Linked DNA regions of Homo sapiens: region 2 is linked to region 1. Evidence: promoter capture Hi-C in 16 types of primary human blood cells and fetal thymus (Javierre and others, 2016). All regions are on one chromosome and are shown on one strand. The core of a region is centred on a gene start or on the middle of the fragment in contact, and the rest is flanking DNA. Distances in the headings are between cores, read along the strand shown.

Evidence for each region. Contacts are between HindIII fragments. The CHiCAGO score rates a contact against its expected background, and 5 or more counts as called.
Region 2: the fragment with the promoter of ALG12 here is called in contact with a fragment that was not itself captured in region 1 in 1 of 17 cell types (erythroblasts); the score reaches 5.1 in erythroblasts.

What each region holds. Positions count from the first base shown.
Region 1 is chr22:50,632,119-50,636,158 of GRCh38, reverse strand. LOC124905149 (a long non-coding RNA gene) reads right to left here. Exons shown (of 2, transcript XR_007068161.1): 1 at 1,461-4,040; 2 at 153-616. Among named protein-coding and RNA genes, the nearest start is that of ARSA, 6.0 kb to the right of the region's middle. RefSeq lists enhancers at 1-380, 381-897. The HindIII fragment of the contact is 690 bases long and covers 1,583-2,272 here.
Region 2 is chr22:49,916,659-49,920,698 of GRCh38, reverse strand. ALG12 (ALG12 alpha-1,6-mannosyltransferase) reads left to right here and starts at 2,261. Exons shown (of 10, transcript NM_024105.4): 1 at 2,261-2,436. CRELD2 (CRELD disulfide isomerase 2) reads right to left here and starts at 2,065. Exons shown (of 10, transcript NM_024324.5): 1 at 1,801-2,065; 2 at 1,387-1,469; 3 at 859-969; 4 at 452-543. The coding sequence starts at 1,929. RefSeq lists silencers at 1,862-2,361, 2,472-2,671. The HindIII fragment of the contact is 6,188 bases long and covers 1-4,040 here.

The DNA of each region.
Region 1 (4,040 bases), core at 678-3,177:
GTCTCATGGTTTCATGAGGTGCTTCCCCACTCTTCGCTCTGCACACCTCCTTCCTGACCTCATGTGAAGAACGTGTTTGCTTCCTCTTCCGCCATGATTGTAAGTTTCCTGAGGCTTCCCAGCCACGCTGAACTGTGAGTCAATTAAACCTCTTTCCTTTACAAATCACCCAGTCTCAGGTATGTCTTTATTAGCAGTGTGAGAATGGGCTACTACAAAGACAATGCCTGGAGGACTCAACCCCTCCCAGCATGACCGGGGGGCACAGCTGGGCCAGGGAGGACAATGCTCGGGCACTGCAGACACACAGCATGACCGGGGGGCACAGCTGGGCAAGAGAGGACAATGCTCGGGCACTGCAGACACACAGCATGGCTGGGGCGCACAGCTGGGCTAGGGAGGACGGGGCTCAGGCACTGCAGACACACAGTATGGCCGGGGGGCACAGCTGGGCTAGGGAGGACGGGGCTCGGGCACTGCAGACAAACAGCATGACCGGGGGGTACAGCTGGGCCAGGGAGGATGGGGCTTAGGTACTGCGGACACACAGATGTCTCCAGGCCACATCATGTCCACTTGTCTTGACCCCAGAATGTAGAGGCTCAAAGCCAAAGACCTAAGTTCACAGACAAATTAAGCAAGTATCAGAAATATGACAGAAGCAAATTTTATGACCTTAAAGCATCTAACAGAGACTGTCTGAACCTGTCCGACCAATGGGCCCAAGCAAAGATGTCTCAATTATATTTAAGACTGACGACTTTGAAGATATTCTAATTTTAGCATCATTTTTTTTTTTGAGATGGAGTCTCACTCTGTCACCCAGGCTAGAGTGCAGTAGTGCAGTCTCGGCTCACTGCAACCTCTACCTCCCAGGTTCAAGTGATTCTCCTGCCTCAGCCTCCTGAGTAGCTAGGACTACAGGCGCATGCCACCACGCCTGGCTAATTTTTGTATTTTTAGTAGAGACGGGGTTTCACCATGTTGGCCAGGATGGTCTCGATCTCTTGACCTCGTGATTTGCCCGCCTCAGCCTCCCAAAGTGCTGGGATTACAGGTGTGAGCCACTGCACCCAGCAGCAACAATTTTAAAACTAAGTTTATTTGCCAAAGATTACTAGTCACATGAACTAGAAAAGCATCTGGGTTTAGTTACATCATTCATGAGCACTTATTTATTTATACGTCAATTTGCTACTATGTACATAATATACAAACAGGCATGTACACATAAAAATACAGACACAAATCAAGATTTTATAGCTTTAGTTTTAAGATTTTAGCCACGAATCGGGTAAAAATCACTAGTTTAAAAGGATACTTAAAATTGTGCCTCTGTAAATGGAACAAGGTAAAATTTATCTGTCTCACACGGCCAAAGCCCTTACCAAGTTTTAGAGAAAACAAGGCAACAAATTTACATCTTGAAGCACAGAGAAAAAAAAATTATTTTTATTTACTGAATTTTTTCAAGACGGAGTCTTGCTCTGTCGCCCAGGTTGGAGTGCAACGGCACGATCTTGACTCACTGCAACCTCTGCCTCCTTGGTTCAAGCAATTCCACAGGGAGAAAGTTTAAGCTTTGATTTAGTATGTTAAAGGAAGATTTTAAATGGATGCTGAGGTAACAAAAAGTCATAGAAATTCACCACAGGATTTTATAAGGACAACAATGTTATTTAAATATGTGGCTATTAATTTATTCTCCATTTTTGAACTAGACCACTGGGCTCAGGACAGAGCTCATTAATGAACATGGCCAAAAAAGCATTTGCAGTTTGGAGGACCTAATATTTAAATATGTGAAAAACAGGTGCAGCTGGAAGGCAGAGCATCTAGATCTTTTAAAATCAAGGATCCCACATTTACACTGAATGCTGAGTTCCCTCTAAAAAGAGATATATATGAGACAAAGCCATACAGTGTTTCCACAGTGTACCTCACTATGAAGACATTCCCCTGAGGCTGGTGGGAGACCCACAGCAATCAGCCCACGGAGTCTCAGCCTTTGACGCCAAGTGCTTCCATAGTCTCCAAGTGTTCAGATTGTGCCTTTCTCATCTAAACATGCAGAGAAACAAGCAGCCACTGCAGGAACAACCATTCACTACAACTGCTTTCAGCCACCTCCAAAACTGTGAGGCAGCCCTCGCCAGTGACCTGCCGGCCATCACACACACTCAGGTCATGCACTGTCTCACAGTGCAACGTAATCCCTGGTACCCCCAAAGCCAAAGAGATCCAGTGACACAGTGCCAAAGACAGCCAAGCTTTAGACCCGAGAGGAAGCTACCCACGACTCCTCAGGCCCCATAAGGAAGACAAAAGCGGGGCGCGTGGCACCTTTCTTTGCGTTCCCCAAGGGGTCTCTAAGTCATCAGAAGTCCCTTGTAGATCCCTTCATTAGGTACCAAAGATGGCAAAGGGGATGGAGGAGCACGGAGGGGTAGAAGTAAATGGGACTGCAATCCTTAGAGGAGCCAATTTGGAAAAATGTTAAGGTTCTAAAAGGCCAATACAATTTTACATTTTTCTCATCAAAATTATACCAACAAAGGAACCAAACAGAAGGACCAAACACACAATTTAAAGGGGTTTCAGTCACCTGAAAAAAAAATTCCCAGAAACAGGGTCCAAAAGCAGAAAAGGCTGTAGATACATGGCTTGAAGATCAGCTCACCTGTTTTTAATTAAGCCAACTTCTGACCACAGAGCTCTTTTTTAAAATCCTTTCAAATATCTTATTATCAGATTTTAGCTGAGACCAACAGCTGATAGCCATGGCTTTGAGACCTTTTTTTTTAAAACCAAAGGTACCTCCCAAGTGACTCACCAAAACCAATAAGCCTTAACTAAAGCTATGGACTTAACCAAGGACACATAAGCCATCTCCAAAGAGGCGCAAAGCAGTCCTGATGACATCCAGAGCCACCCCAAAGAGCTCAAAGAAAGGAAATCAAAAGCTGCCAGTGGAGGGGGAAAGGGTCAACAACAAATGAGTTCCGCACAAAGTCAAAAGTTGGCTGGGTGCGTGGCTCACGCTGGTAATCCCAGCACTTTGGGAGGCCGAGGCAGCCGGATCACAAGGTCAGGAGTTCGAGACCAGCCTGGCCAACACGGTGAAACCCCATGTCTACTAAAAATACAAAAAAAAAAAAGAAAAAAAAAGAAAATTAGCTGGGCGTGGTGGCTCACACCTGTAATCCCAGCACTCTGGGAGGCCAAGGCGGGAGGATCACGAGGTCAGGAGTTCGAGACCAGCCTGGCCAACATGGTGAAACCCCATCTCTACTAAAAATACACACACACAAAAAAATCAGCCGGGCGTGGTGGCTCACACCTGTAATCCCAGCTACTCCAGAGGCTGAGGCAGGAGAATTGCTTAAACCCAGGAGGCAGAGGGTGCAGTGAGCCAAGATCATGCCACTGCACTCCAGCCTGGGCGACAGAGCAAGACTCCGTCTCCAAAAAAAAAACAAAAGAAAGAATTCAAAAGTCACACAAATATCAAACCAAAAGGGACTGGTTCCTCTATTGGGAATTGAACCCAGGCCATGGTAGTGAAAGTACAGAATTTTAAGTAGTTTCCAAGATGCAGCAGTCTTCATTGTGAATCCTGCAGGGATCCAAAGCAATGGTTTGCGCGCACAAAGGATTTTAACTTGTTACAGGTCAGATTTTTGCTCTTTAATTTTGTGAAGAGGATTTCTAAGGCTAGCCACAACATTATTATGTGTCTTTCCTTTAATCTCCCCACAAATACAAATAAGGCAATTGTTTAGAATGAGAGACCTCTAAAATCTTTTTTTTTTTTTAATTTAGGGATCTTTCTAATGTAAAGGATTCATCTTTTGGCTATTGACAATCAGAATTTCCAATGATGTATTTATTCCAATAGCAACTCAATCCAAGAAGCCCCTTCATGGAAAGCCCAAAAGATTATTTTCCAGGTTTAGAGAGGGCATAGAAGAGGAGGTTCCAATGATGCCCCCAAAATTCACTCCCAGGAATAGGCAAAGACAGCAAAAGACTCTTGTTCC
Region 2 (4,040 bases), core at 1,012-3,511, 720 kb after region 1:
TGGCACCCATTGGGGCTCAAGGCCATGTGCCCAGCCTGATAGACACCCAGTGCCCTGCGCTCTCTGCAATAGCAGCCACAGAAGTTGTGGTGTGGTCACCTCTGTGCACACAGGGAGAAGCACCTGGACAGGTCAGTCAGGACAGACTCTCAGGTGAGTGGACTCAGCTGTGAACAACCTGAGTCTGTGAACCCCTGAATTAACAGCACAGCTGGGAAGACATACTCAGAGTTTTACGCTAAAGCATGAGGTTAGTGGTGAGGCTGCAGCCAGACGGTGCGAAGTGCTCCAAGCTGTGTTGGGGATGGGGGAGGCAGCCATCCGGCAGGGTCCCAGACCCTACAGAAAGCTGATGCACCCCAGGTCCCCTCTGTGCTTTTACCTCCCAAGAATCATGAGAAGAAGAGGGGAAGTGACGTAGGAGATGGGATTTCCCTGAGGAGAAACGCACCGAGACAGTCGGGACCGTAGGTTCCTGGAGAGCAGCACACTTTCAGTGTCTTCACACAAAACCACTCGAATAAGTCAGGATATTCGCTCTTCCTGAGGATGGAGGAAAACATTCACTGAATCCCAGCAGACACGGTTCTTTAAAACAAACATGCAGCTGAACGTAACATATGCTCTGGAGTATTGTAAGGTCCAGGAAACAAGAGTCTAGGTGTGGACAGAATCTTCTCCTTAATTTCCTGGTTTTGATCGCTGACTCTGGTGATAAAAAACGGTAATGCAGGGGTAAGGTGGGTGCGAGGCAGGTGGGAGCTCCCTACTGTTCCTGTACCTTTCTAAGTCTGAGGTTATTTCAAATTCTAAGTTGGAAAATAAAAAGTATCTTCTAAGAGGTTTTAAGGCACTCACAGCTGCAGCCACCAGGCCTCCAGGTGCTCCTCCTGCGCCTCTAGCATCTGATTGCATTCGAAGTCGCTGCTCTCGCACAGCCCCTCCAGGATCTCCAGCAGGCGAATCTCGCTGAAACACAGGCCCACACCGGCCCACCGTCAGCGCCTCCAAGGCAGTGAAGAAAAATCCGAACCAATACGCCAACCTGGGTGCAGGGGCCGGGGAGCCAGGACTCCGGGCACAGAGAATAAGGGGACCCCACTGTCAGGGGAAGCCAGGAGCGGTTCCCACAAGTGGGGCTGGTGTTCCAGTTTACATTTTGAAAAGCCACTGTCTGTTGAGGGGGTAGGGACCAGAGCAGAAGCTGGAAGGCCAGAGAGGGGCCAGCCATTAGTCCTCAGGGAGAAGCCGAGGTGACTCGGACGGGTGACTGGTGCCTCGGGGGCTGTTCTGTCTCCCTGTCATTAACACAGGCACCAAAGGCAGGACACGACTTCCCAGGACAGCGCCAGGCCAAGACCCACAGGGGTGCTCCAGGGCACCCACCTGGACTCGTACTTGGACAGCGTCTTTTCCTCCCAAGCCGTGTTCCCGCCGCCAAAGTTCTTCTTTGCGGTGTCCACCATCCCCTGCGAGGAGACAGTGCCCATAGTGCTTGGTACCACCTGACCCGGGTCCAGGGTGGGGGCGAGCCCAGGTCGAGGGTGAGGGGACTCCAGGCCCACGGTGGCGTCGACCCTGGTTCCACGGTGGGGGTGGATCCGGGTCAAGGGTGAGGGGGACTCCAGGACCACGGTGGAGGGACTCTGGATCGACGGTGAGGGGGATCCCGAATCCAGGGTGAGGGGGACCCCGGATCCAGGGTGAGGGCGACCCTGGGCCCAAGGTGGGGCGACCCCGGATGCAGGGTGAGGGGGACCCCGGGCCCAAGGTTGACGACCCCGCCCGGCCCCTTCCCACCTGGTTAAACTTGTCCACCAGCCCCCGGCACCGGTGGCAGGGCGTCGGCTTCTTGGCGGCCTCCGGCGCGGGCGGCAGCAGCAGCAGAAGCGGCAGGAGCCCCAGCGCGGCCCGGCGCGGCAGGCGCATGGCGGGTAGCGCTGCGGGAAGACGCAGCCGGAGCTCCAGGTCCTGCGGCCGTGCTGCTCCGGCCTCCCGGCCGCCCACCCGCTCCCAGCCGCGCCGGCCTGTCCCCCAGGCTACTTGACGGCGCCGGCGAGGCCCCGCCCCACCCGCCAGCCCCGCGCCGCTATTGGTTGATGGGACCCGCCCCGGCCTGATATGGCCCAATCCGAGTTCGCCACGAGAGGTGACCAATGGGAAGGCCCCGGATCAGCGGCCGCCAGGAGTCCGGGGGCGGGGCGTGCAGGTCCGACCCCGCCTCCCGCTCCCCGCCCCTCGCGCGCAGCCCGCGGCGGCCATCTTTACTCAGGGCACAGAGGGTCTCTGCGGCCGTAGCGGCCGGGGCTGCGGTAGCCACTTTAGATTTGGGCAAGGACTTTAGATTCGGGCTCTGTTCTGTTTCCGCCGTCCTGCTTCCTGCCGAGGCTGGCCCAGGCAGCCGCGCTTCGAAGGACGCCGCCGGGAGCTGCGGAGGTCAGTGCGCGCTGCCGCGACCGGGGCCTTCAGGCGGGCGCGCGGCGAGACCAGGGAGGAGGCGGGCGAGGGCGCGACCCGAGCTGGCGCTGGCGCTGGATTCCTGAGGCCTCACCGCGCATGTCCACGCGTCACAGCCCCGTGCTCCTTACCTGGGGCTGCACCCCTCACTTGGGGCCGGGCTCCTCACCTGGGGCTGGACCTGTCACCTGGGGGCCAGACCTCTCACCCGGGGGCCGGACCTCTCATCCGGGGGCCCGACCTCTCACCTGGGGCTGGACCTCTCACCTGGGGCCGGGCTCCTCACCTGGGGCCGGACCTCCCACCTGGGGGATGGGTTTTTCACCTGGGGGCTGGGGATCTGGGGTCCACTTAGGGTCTCTGGGGGCTGGGGATCTGCATTTCTACAGGCGCTTGAGGTGATGAACACTCGCTCATGTTCAGGAACCCCTGGTTTAAATTAGGGGAAATAAAACGTGCAGCGTCTGGATTTCAGAGAACTCCTGCCTGTGGAAGGAAGGAGTGCAGATAACACTGCACATTTAAAAAAAAAAAAAGTAACATCTGATTTGACCAGTTTCTTTTCTGTTTTTTTGAGACGGAGTCTCACTTTGTCGCCCAGGCTGGAGTGCAGTGGCGCGATCTCAGCTCACTGCAAGCTCCGCCTTCCAGGTTCCTGTGATTCTGCTGCCTCAGCCTCCTAAGTTGGGATTACAGGCACCCACCACCAGGTCCGGCTAATTTTTGTATTTTTAGTAGAGACGGGGTTTCACCATGTTGGCCAGGCTGGTCTCGAAGTCCTGACCTCAAGCGATCTGCCTGCCTCAGCCTCCCAAAGTGCTAGGGTTACAGGCGTGAGCCACCATGCTTAGCCTGATTTGATCAATTTCGGTAGAGGCCTTAAAATCTGGATTGATGGGGACAAGAGGGTCTTTGCAGGTCATTCCCTAATCTGAGATGCCATTGTTCTGTAAACCACCATTTTAAAGTGTCATGGCCTGGGCCCGTTTTAACCTGTGGGTGCTCTCGAAGCACCCGTCACTTAGATTAGCCACAGCTGCTGCCCAGCTGCCCAGCAGAGTGGGCTAGTGCAGGACAGTGTCCGTTCACCCTCGCCTGGTGGGGGGTTCGTCGTGGTTTTCGTGCTTGCTGGTGTTGACTTGGTCTTCCCGTGCTCCTGGCAGAGAATCCAGACTCACCCTTGGTCTTCTCATGCCCTCGAAAGTGAGCTGTGCTGGTCATCAGCAGAAGGCACACCTTGTTGGGTCCGAGGAGGTGCTGGGGGCCCGCCAGGAGTGTCAGAGTCAGCACGTAATGTTTTCACCCCACAGCTGAACTCTTCCTTGCTGGGGAACTCCCCTGGGTGGAGAGGTGTGGAGTGGGGTTGTGGGGGACTGCCAAGCAGCACTTGCTGTGTGCACCTCCCACATCTTGGCACGTAGATGCTCCCCGTTCCGTTTTATTTTTTATTTTTGTAGAAATGGGGTCTCATGATGTAGCCCAAGTTGGTCTTGAACTCCGGGCCTCAAGCAGTACCCCCCATGTCAGCTTCCTGAGTAGCTGGGATTATTTTTGTGGAGATGGGGTCTGGCTCTGTAGCCCAG